2 separate regions of the Homo sapiens genome follow, and region 2 is linked to region 1. Evidence: promoter capture Hi-C in human tissues and cell types (Jung and others, 2019). All regions are on one chromosome and are shown on one strand. The core of a region is centred on a gene start or on the middle of the fragment in contact, and the rest is flanking DNA. Distances in the headings are between cores, read along the strand shown. Region 1 holds the start of LINC00955 (long intergenic non-protein coding RNA 955). Region 2 overlaps LOC112268461 (a long non-coding RNA gene).

Evidence for each region. The method cuts DNA at HindIII sites, captures the fragments that hold promoters and counts their contacts. A contact is called where the count stands out against the background at its distance.
Region 2: a contact is called between a fragment that was not itself captured here and the fragment with the promoter of LINC00955 in region 1, in 8 of the 25 tissues and cell types used here (IMR-90 fibroblasts, adrenal gland, bladder and 5 more).

Annotation. Positions count from the first base shown.
Region 1 is chr4:3,575,434-3,579,950 of GRCh38, reverse strand. It overlaps LINC00955 (long intergenic non-protein coding RNA 955), which reads right to left and starts at 3,082. Exons shown (of 3, transcript NR_040045.1): 1 at 2,828-3,082. The HindIII fragment of the contact is 13,427 bases long and covers 1-4,517 here.
Region 2 is chr4:3,630,278-3,634,465 of GRCh38, reverse strand. LOC112268461 (a long non-coding RNA gene) reads left to right here. Exons shown (of 4, transcript XR_002959775.2): 2 at 1-21; 3 at 833-1,038; 4 at 1,236-1,430. Among named protein-coding and RNA genes, the nearest start is that of LINC02171, 45 kb to the left of the region's middle. RefSeq lists an enhancer at 2,295-3,294. The HindIII fragment of the contact is 8,760 bases long and covers 1-4,188 here.

The DNA of each region.
Region 1 (4,517 bases), core at 1,833-4,332:
AAGTTATTTCATTAGCAGTAGTTCCTACTACTTAATAAAACACCTTCAAAAACTTAATTACATCAACAAACTTAATATATTAGATCTTGCCTGACAAATATTCCCAAATTAACTAGTTCTTTTAAATTTAAAAACATAACTTCCTAATATGATGAAACTTAGATTCTCTTAAATGTTCCAACATTTTATATAAACTTTATGATTTCAACTGATAGTCATAAGTCTAAATCAAGTAATTCAGTGTATATTTCAAATGTTAATTAAAAGGCCAAACTGTCCCTTCTAATAACCCCAAATCTCTTAAACATCACAAATGCTTATAATACCAAACACGCCCAGATTCCTTCACTCAAAACTATGAATACTGGAAGTTGATACCATAAAACATTTCTGTACCTAATTCTAAATATTCCCTTGGGTTTAAACATTTTTTTTTTTCACTGAGGAAACAACTAAGAGATTTGAGCAGCATTATCTAGGTAATTGGAGGTTAGAAAATACTAGCATTATCAGTCAGTGTACTGATGGTATTTTCATCTACCACACAGACGGGAGTTGCAGAAACCTATTTATGTATTGTTACAGGGACTCCAGATCTTAGAGTTTGGTTTTGAGCCCTCGACCCCATATAGAACTTGATCCTGTTCCTTTCATGCACATCTATAAACCCCACCCAGGGGGTTCAAATGGGTTTTGCATTTATCAGACTTCTCCATGATTGGCATAGTCTTCCTGGTGAGACCTGGAGTGTGGCTCCCAGACACCCAAACTTGGCTGGAGTCCTGAAGCAGGCGCAGCTAATCTGGCTGATCTACTCCTTCACACTCGTGGAGCAGATGGGGAAACAGACCAGAGGGGCAGCCCAGGAAGCAAATTTGGATGATCCAAATCTCAAAGCTGAGTTGGAATCTGTGGACAAAGCTTCTAAAGTCATACGAGTGATGTGTGGTGTTTGGATGGATGGATGGATGGATGGATGGATGGATGGATGGATGGATAGATGGGTGGATAGAGGATGGATGATGGGTCTTTGGGTAGATGGGTAGATGGGTGGATGGATAGGTGGGTGGACCACAGTCTGATGGGTAGATGGGTTGATAGGTGGTTGTTTGAGTAGGTGGATAGAATGGATGGATAGAAGTTTTATGAGGGTATGGGTGAATGGGGAGTAGTGGATAAGTAGGTGAAGCAGTCAATGGGTAAGTGAGTGAATGTGTAGGAGGATCATGCATGAATGGGTGAGTGGATGTCATGGGTATATGGGTATAGGAGAGGTAGATAAGTATGTGTACAGATGGGCAAAGGGAAGGATGTGGGCGTGTTATGGGGTGGTTGGGTAGGTTGACGGATGGATGGGTGGATAAGTATTGTGTTACATGGGAGAAAACAAGTTTAGTTAGGTTGATGGGTGAATGGATGAGTGAGTAGTTGGATATAGACATGGAAGCTGGCTAGCTGGGTGGATGGATGATGGGTGAGTGAATGGATGGGTGGGTGATGAAAGAAAGGGAGGACGGATGGGTGGATGGATGGATGAGTGAGTGAATGAATGGATAGGTGGGTGAATGGAATAGGTGGATGGATGGATGGACGGATGGATGGATGGATGGATGGATGGATGGATGGATGGATGATGAAAGAAAGAAAGCATGAAAGGATGGGTGGGTGAATAGAATAGGTGGATGAATGGATGGATGGTTGGAAGGATGGATAGATAAGTGAATAATGAATGGGTGGACGAATATGTGGATGAATGGATGGATGGGTGGATAGATGGATGATGAAAGAAAGAAAGGGTGAATGGATGGGTGGATGGGAGAGTGAATAAATGAATGGGTGGATGAATGGGTAGATGGATGGATGGGTGGATGGATGAATGAATGAGTGAGAGGATGGGTGGGTGATGAAAGAAAGGAAGGATGAAAGGGTGGACGGGTAGGTGGATGAATGTATGATAGGATGGAAGCTGGCTGGATGTGGGGGTGGATGAGTTGAATGGACAGATGGGTAAGAGGGTGAGTAAGTGGGTGGATGGTGAAGGAATTAATAATGTTATTATTATAAACATTATTATTATTATATGAATAAGTTTCTGGTTTAGAAGACTAGTATCCTTCTGAGAGCTCTCTCAGAGTGTCAGGCTCTACAAATTTGCTTCCTTGGGCTGCCCCTCTCTGGGTTGTTTCCCCATTTGCTCCATGAGTGTGAAGGAGTAGATTGGCCAGATTAGCTGCGCCTGCTCCAGGGGCCCAGCCCAAGCCCAGGTGCCTGGGAGTCACACTCCAGGACACTCGACCCCTGCCCTCTGGGGCCAGGGTCAGCAGCCTCTGGCCAGACCCCTCTTCTTAAAACAAGCTCAGGTAGGGAGAGAACACTGCCCTGCTGGTGGTTGCCATGGAAAATCCTTCATTGCTTGTTTTTCTCCTCGACTGATTAAGAAAAGGGAGTCATAAAATGACAGGGCGTCACTGGGCCTTGCCGCTGGCCAGCTTTGACTTATCCCCTGACATTTCCCAGGAGCCAGCTAACCTTTTCTGCCACAAATAGACTGAAGCGGGTCCCTTGAGGCAGTCTAGCCTGAACAGAGTCCATCTCAGGGGAGGTCAGGACCCGGGATACAGCAACAGGAGCCGGGTCATTCAAATAACCAGGAAGGAGAGCAGACAGTGCTGGGACCGAGAGCACAGCGAGGACCCTAAGGAAGCCACCAAAAAACAGCCTTCGCAACAGTCAGGACTGCTGTCAGGACCACCAGGCAGAGCCCAGGGAGCAAACACCTGCTCTCCCTCCCTGGGGTCCCCGCTGTGTTCCCAGGCATGACACTCACCTCCCAGAGCAGCAGCCTGGCCTCTGCTCCTCTCCGGGCAGAAACGACACAGGGATGCTCCCCAGTCAGTGTGCTGGGGTCCTAGGGGCGTTGGCGACGCCGGGGCAGGTTCCACCATAGATCCTGCTGCCTCAATCCAGAGGGCTTTCGGAAGGCGCCCCTGCTATGGCATCGCAGAGGGAGGAGACCCGGGATGTGGCCCAGCAGGGCTGTGTATACACCAAGATGCCTCCGTCTGCCCTTCCAGCTGTAAATCAAGACTCAGCCGTGGAGAGGGAGGATAAAGTCCACAGGGGCTGAACCTCCTCCCCAGCCCTGGTCTCAGCCTCAGGATAGAAGACTTTAACCCCAGAAGGCCCTCAGGAGGCCAGGCAAGCCAACACCCTCGAACCTGTGCCACGATGGGGGGCGATGGGGCGAGGACAGAGCCTGGAGTCACAGACCAGGAAACTGGGTTGCCTCAGCTCACCCAGGGTCCCAAGGCCAGGACAGGGCAGAGCCGAGACCAAAGTCCCTGCGAGGCCGCCCTCATGAAGGGACTCGGGAGGGTTCACTGGGTGAATGGATGAGCCTGTACAGTGAATGAAGGCCGAGCCCACGGCTGGGAGCTGCCATCCCCGGCTTCCTCTGAATACAGACAGCCTGATGCGCAGGTCTCAGATCTGGAAGGGGGCCTGGGCCCCTTGACCCCATCTCTTCATTTACTGCTGGGGAAACCGAGGGCCAGCCTGCCACAGTAATGCCGTGGGTGCCTGAGTCATCTCCTCCTCCTCCTCTTCCTTCTCCTCCTCCTCCTCTTCCTCCCCCTTCCTCATCTCCCCCTTTCCTCCTTCTCTTCCTCTTCCTCCCTTCCTCCCACCCGTCTCCCTCTCCTGAGCCCCAGCTCTGCTCTGCCACCAGGCCTTGTCCCTTTTAGGGTCCAAAAGAGCAGGTCCTGCCCTGGGGCCAGTCAGCATGAAAAGGGATGACCATCTCTTCCTCCAGAGGACAGGGACTCTATGCCCCAGGCACTCCAAGGTCAAACCTGGCTCCCACTCAGACTATGAAGACAGCATCCACTGGGTCAGAGTCATGAAGCCACGGGTCCCAGGGGACAGCTCAGGTGGCCACAGGGCCAGACTGGCAGGCTGCCCTCTGCCTCCTGTTAGCACAAACACCCCTCCCCTCAGGCCTGAACTCTGACATGAGCCAGTGGGCACCGGGCCCTGTCAGGAACAGGAGGAGGCCACAGCCATCCTCAGGAGAGAACAAAGGACACACAGGCCTCCGGGGAGAGCAGTGGGTGGCAGTGACAGGAGGGGCTACTCAGAATTCATGAGCGAGGGCCAGGCAGCTTGGCCACCTTGGAGGAGCCGCTGCACCTATCCAAGCCCAGGTTTCCCTGCTGAAGGCAGCACCGGTGTCTCCTCCTGGGGGTGTTGAGAGGGTCATCCCAGGCCAGGGAGGTCGAAGGGCTCTGTGAGCTGTGAAGCGCTGGGCACCTGTGGGGCGGGGGCGTTCATCCTGCGGTCAGTCTGCCCTGGAGGGCGGAACACCTACGCACTGTTCCAGCGGGAGGGGTATGGCGTCCAGTGAGGCCCAGCTCCCCGAGCCTTTCCTGATGGCACTGGAAGACAGGCAGCATCCCAGAAACATATAAAAGGCCCAGGGGCTGGTGCTGGGGGCACATGACCGGGGCGACCCTGGGCTG
Region 2 (4,188 bases), core at 1,068-3,567, 55 kb before region 1:
TGCATCTCAGCCACTGGAAAGGTAGGGGCCTCTGGGGGGCTACCCTGTTCACAGATCTTTCTAGGGGAGACCCCAGAGACGGCCTCCCTGGAGCCACATTGCGAGTGGCCAGAGCCGCATCCCGCATCACGCCCTCTGAGGGGCCAGCAGACAGCTCCAGGCGGAGCTCAAAGTGTCCTCGGACTCCAGCAGGAAGTGCTGGACTGGATGTCGGTGGGGGCCTTTGAGATCCCGATTCTGCAACCTCAGCTCCCGGGGCTCTCCAGGCCCACAGTCCTGCTGACTGAAATGTTGGCAATGGTGGCCACTGCGCCTCCGCTCAAGAGTTTGCAGGAAGTTCCATGCGGGAGATCAAGTGAGAGTGGCCAGGGGCCTCTAGCAGTGACCAGCAGACAAAGCCTGGTCTCCAGGCATCACCAGGCCACTGGGCCAGGAGCCTGAGCTGTGGGCTCTGTGGTGGGTGGATGCTGGTTTTCTTCACTGGTACGGGAGAAAATGGGGATCCTGAGAGATCCCATGGAGAAGCTTCCAGCAAGCTGGGCCTGGATCCCAGCCCGCCTCTGCTCAGGTGTTCATAGTTGTGGACGCTGAGTATCTGCCGGTCCTAGTCCCTCGGAGGGACCCATGCACTCCAGGACGCAGCCTCAGACCCAGGGAGGTGGTATCATGCACTGACGATGGCAAGGCCTCCTGGAAGCCCCTGGGGCAAAACCTCTTGGCAGTGCTCAAGGCCCCACACTGGAAAGTGGACACAGCACAGTGATTTGCCATGCCCAGGCCGGTGCAGAGCAGCAGGCAGCCCACGTCACTCTCCTGGGCCATCTCTCTGCAGGGGACAGCCACCATCCGAGCCCCCCATCCAGGGGTTCCCATGTGGGGACACCTTCTGGCAGCCCAGCTGAGCTCCCACCCCTAGCAAACACTGCCGGCCTCTCACCCCAGAGCGCTTTCAATGGCAGCAGCCTCCAAGGGCACCCACTGAGAGACCCCAACTGAGAGCCCCCAACCACGCCCTCCGAACTCCTGGCCAGTGGGACGGTGAGTGAGGAGGCCCGAGATCTGCCTCACAACTCGGTAACAGAGCAGAGCATGCCTGCTCCAAGCCGGGGTTCTCTCCAGACATGGAAGGAGGGAGGGAGAGAAGGAGGGAGGGAGGGAAGGAGGGAGGGAGGGGAAGGGGGAGGGGAGGGGAGGGACCAGGGAGGATAATGAAAAGGACCTGGCACTATTTGTAGAGACACACTTCTGCCCACTGAGAAGGTCCTCGGCCTTGATGTCCAGCTCTGCGGTGACGGAACCTGGACAGAGAGAGCAGGACCCCAGCATGAGAGTAGCAATGGACGTCACAGCAAAACATCCACGTTTCACAGTCACGACTTCCAGGAGCAAACCGAGCCTCTCCAGCAGCAGGGTGAGAGGTGACAGGGCACAGTTGAGGAGTCCCAGGGCTGCCGCGATAGGGGTGCCCACACAGGGCTTCAACAACGGGCGTCCACTCCCTCGCAGTCTGGAGTCCCACGTCCCAGATGGAGGTGCGGGCAGGGCCGTGCTGCCTCTGAAGGTTCTGCAGGAGCACCCTTCCTGCGTCTTCCACTCCTGGTGGCTCCAGGCGTCCTTGGCTTGTGGCCGCATCACCCCACTGTCTACTCTGTCGTCTCAGCCTCCTTCTCCTCCTCTCTGTGTCTGAGTCTGGATTTCCCTCTTCCTGTGAGGACACCCATCACCAGGTTCAGGGCCCACCCTACCCCCATATCTCATCTGAACTAATTCCACCGGCAAAGAGCCTATTTCCAAATAAGGTCACATTCTGAGGTTCTGGATGAACATGACTTTACGGGGGACACCGTCTAACCCTGAACATATGGTGTCGGGAGCAGGCACTGCAGGAACTGAGGTGAATCTGTTTCCATCTCTGTGACTCCTGGACACCCCAGACAGCCTTAGAGCCATGGGGAGGCCGCAGTGCCACCAGTCAGGCTGGAGACCCCTAAGTGGGTGCCCAGACAGGGCCCATGGCAGGAGGGCAGTGGGCACAGAGGAGGAAGGCCGGGCTGCTCCCTGCTTCTCCTCTCCCTCCTCCTTCTCCACTGGAAAGTTCCACAGAAGAGTCATCTGGAGGTGAGCAAGGACTCAGTAGGGCTATTGCCCTGGAGAGGAGGCGGCCGAGGAAGGAGAGCCCAGCACGGCTCTCGGAGGCTTCGCAGGGAGTAGGAGTCAAATACCTGGGAGGAACGAGGGCCCTCTCCAGGAAGAAAATGTCTCCAAACCCTCAGAACCCTCCGCAGACCTCATTGCCAAACAAAGAAACATGTTTTCTCAAGTTCCATCCTCAGCTTCAAGATGACCCTGCGTGGGCGAGCTGTGTTTGTTTGACCCCAGCTGGAGAGGAGGGGCCTGTGGTCACAGCCCAGTCACCAGCCCAGTCTCGGGTTCTTGGCCCCATACAGGCGCTGAAGAAAGGCAAGGGGGCTGGGGTCGCTGTGGGTGGTGCCACGTGGGAGGACGCGTGTTAGAGGCACACAGCCGGTGTAGGTCCCTCCCTTTGTCACTGGCCAGCAGTGTTCTGCCCCCGGTCAGCTATTTCCCTTCCACAGGCCTCAGTTCCCCTCTGAAAACACCAGCATCACCGGCCAGTGGTAAAAATTAAACACGCTCTTAATCTTCCAGGCTCTGTCCTGGACACACGGTGACCATCACCAGCATGAGTCAAAGGCCACAAACCAGGCATGTGTGGCTTCAGGACGAATGGACTGCACCCACACCCCATTCAGTGGGGTGACCCCTTCCTGCTTCATCCTGCTCCCCAGCAGCCACCTCCTCCCTCGGGGTGCTGGCTCTCCCCAGACGCACAGCAGCCCGCACAGACCCGTGGCCTGTGTCCTGTCTCCCCATCCCCCCAGGACAGCCAGGCTGTGTAGACAGGGCAGGGGACCAGCATCTTCTGAGGCCCCAGACACGGCTCCTCACACACCTCCACCCCGCAAGGGGGATCCTCACGGGGCAGCAGTGATGCCCCACGGAGTGTCCTGGAGGGTGGGGCAGGGTGAGCGCCCATGCAGGCAGGGCAAGGCCATGCAAGGCAGGCTCCCCATCTCCGGCTCATCAAACATCTGCTGCCGCGGGCCCGCCCAGAGAAAAGTGGGATCAAGGCCTACAGGGGCTCCTGCCTCGCGCTCTGCTGGGGTCCCCAGGGAGGTGAAGCCTTTGCTGGTCCACTGCGGCCCTAAAGGCTGCAGTTGAGACACCCGGGCTGCCAGCTCCAGACTTACAGGGGCATCTCCACCCTTTACATGCCTAAACCACCCCCCGACCCCTCCTTCTCCCACACTGGGACCCTCCCAGGGCACTAGACCCCACCCGGCCCCAAGGTCCCCAGGGGCCATAAGACCCCCCTCCCACCCCACCCCAGGAGGAACACTGCCCGTAGCTCACTGAGGCAACGTCCAGCCTCTAAGCCCAGAAGCTGCCTGTGCTGGAAAATCACCTCCCATTTCCGGGTGAGGCCTGGGCCGGGAGAGTGCTCTCTCCCCACCCTCTGCACCCCGCCCCAGCTTCTTCCCCTGCCTGCCATGTGCCTCGGCCCCCAGGAGCCCCAGTCCCCGCCCACAGCCTGCAGCAAAGCCCCATTCACACCTCCTATGACATGGTCCTGCTGCCCTCCAGAACCCTATCGCCTAGTGCAGGACGGGTGACCAGCAGGCAGGGCACAGCAGCTAGGAGCAGCTCCTAGGAGCCCCCGAGCCCCGCCCTGGCTGATGCCTCCTGGGCCATGTCTGACACATGCTCAGAAGCCCATTTCTCAGATGCGGTATCCTCAGCCTTTGGGAGGGATTTGCGACACTTGAGCAGGGCCCTGAAGCATGTGTAGGAGTTCTCCTATCCCGACTTTCAGGCCACCTGTGGTCAGGGGGCTCCCTGTGCTGCCCGAGGTCCCACCGTGCCTGCTGCACTAGCTGGGGTGCCCTCCCTTTCAGCGGTCCTCAAAGGAGTCTCACCACGCTAGGAAATTGTAAACCCCAGCCTCAGCCTGCACGGTCCCCTCCCCCTGAGGCGCCCCTCATTGTCTTGTCCCCTCTTCTGTGGGTGCTCCCTGACCCTCCTTTTCCCCCTCCAGGCTGGCCCCAGGCGCTCCCTCTCCTCCTACAGCCCTGAGAGGTCATAGCTTTGACCTCCCCACATTGCCAGCAC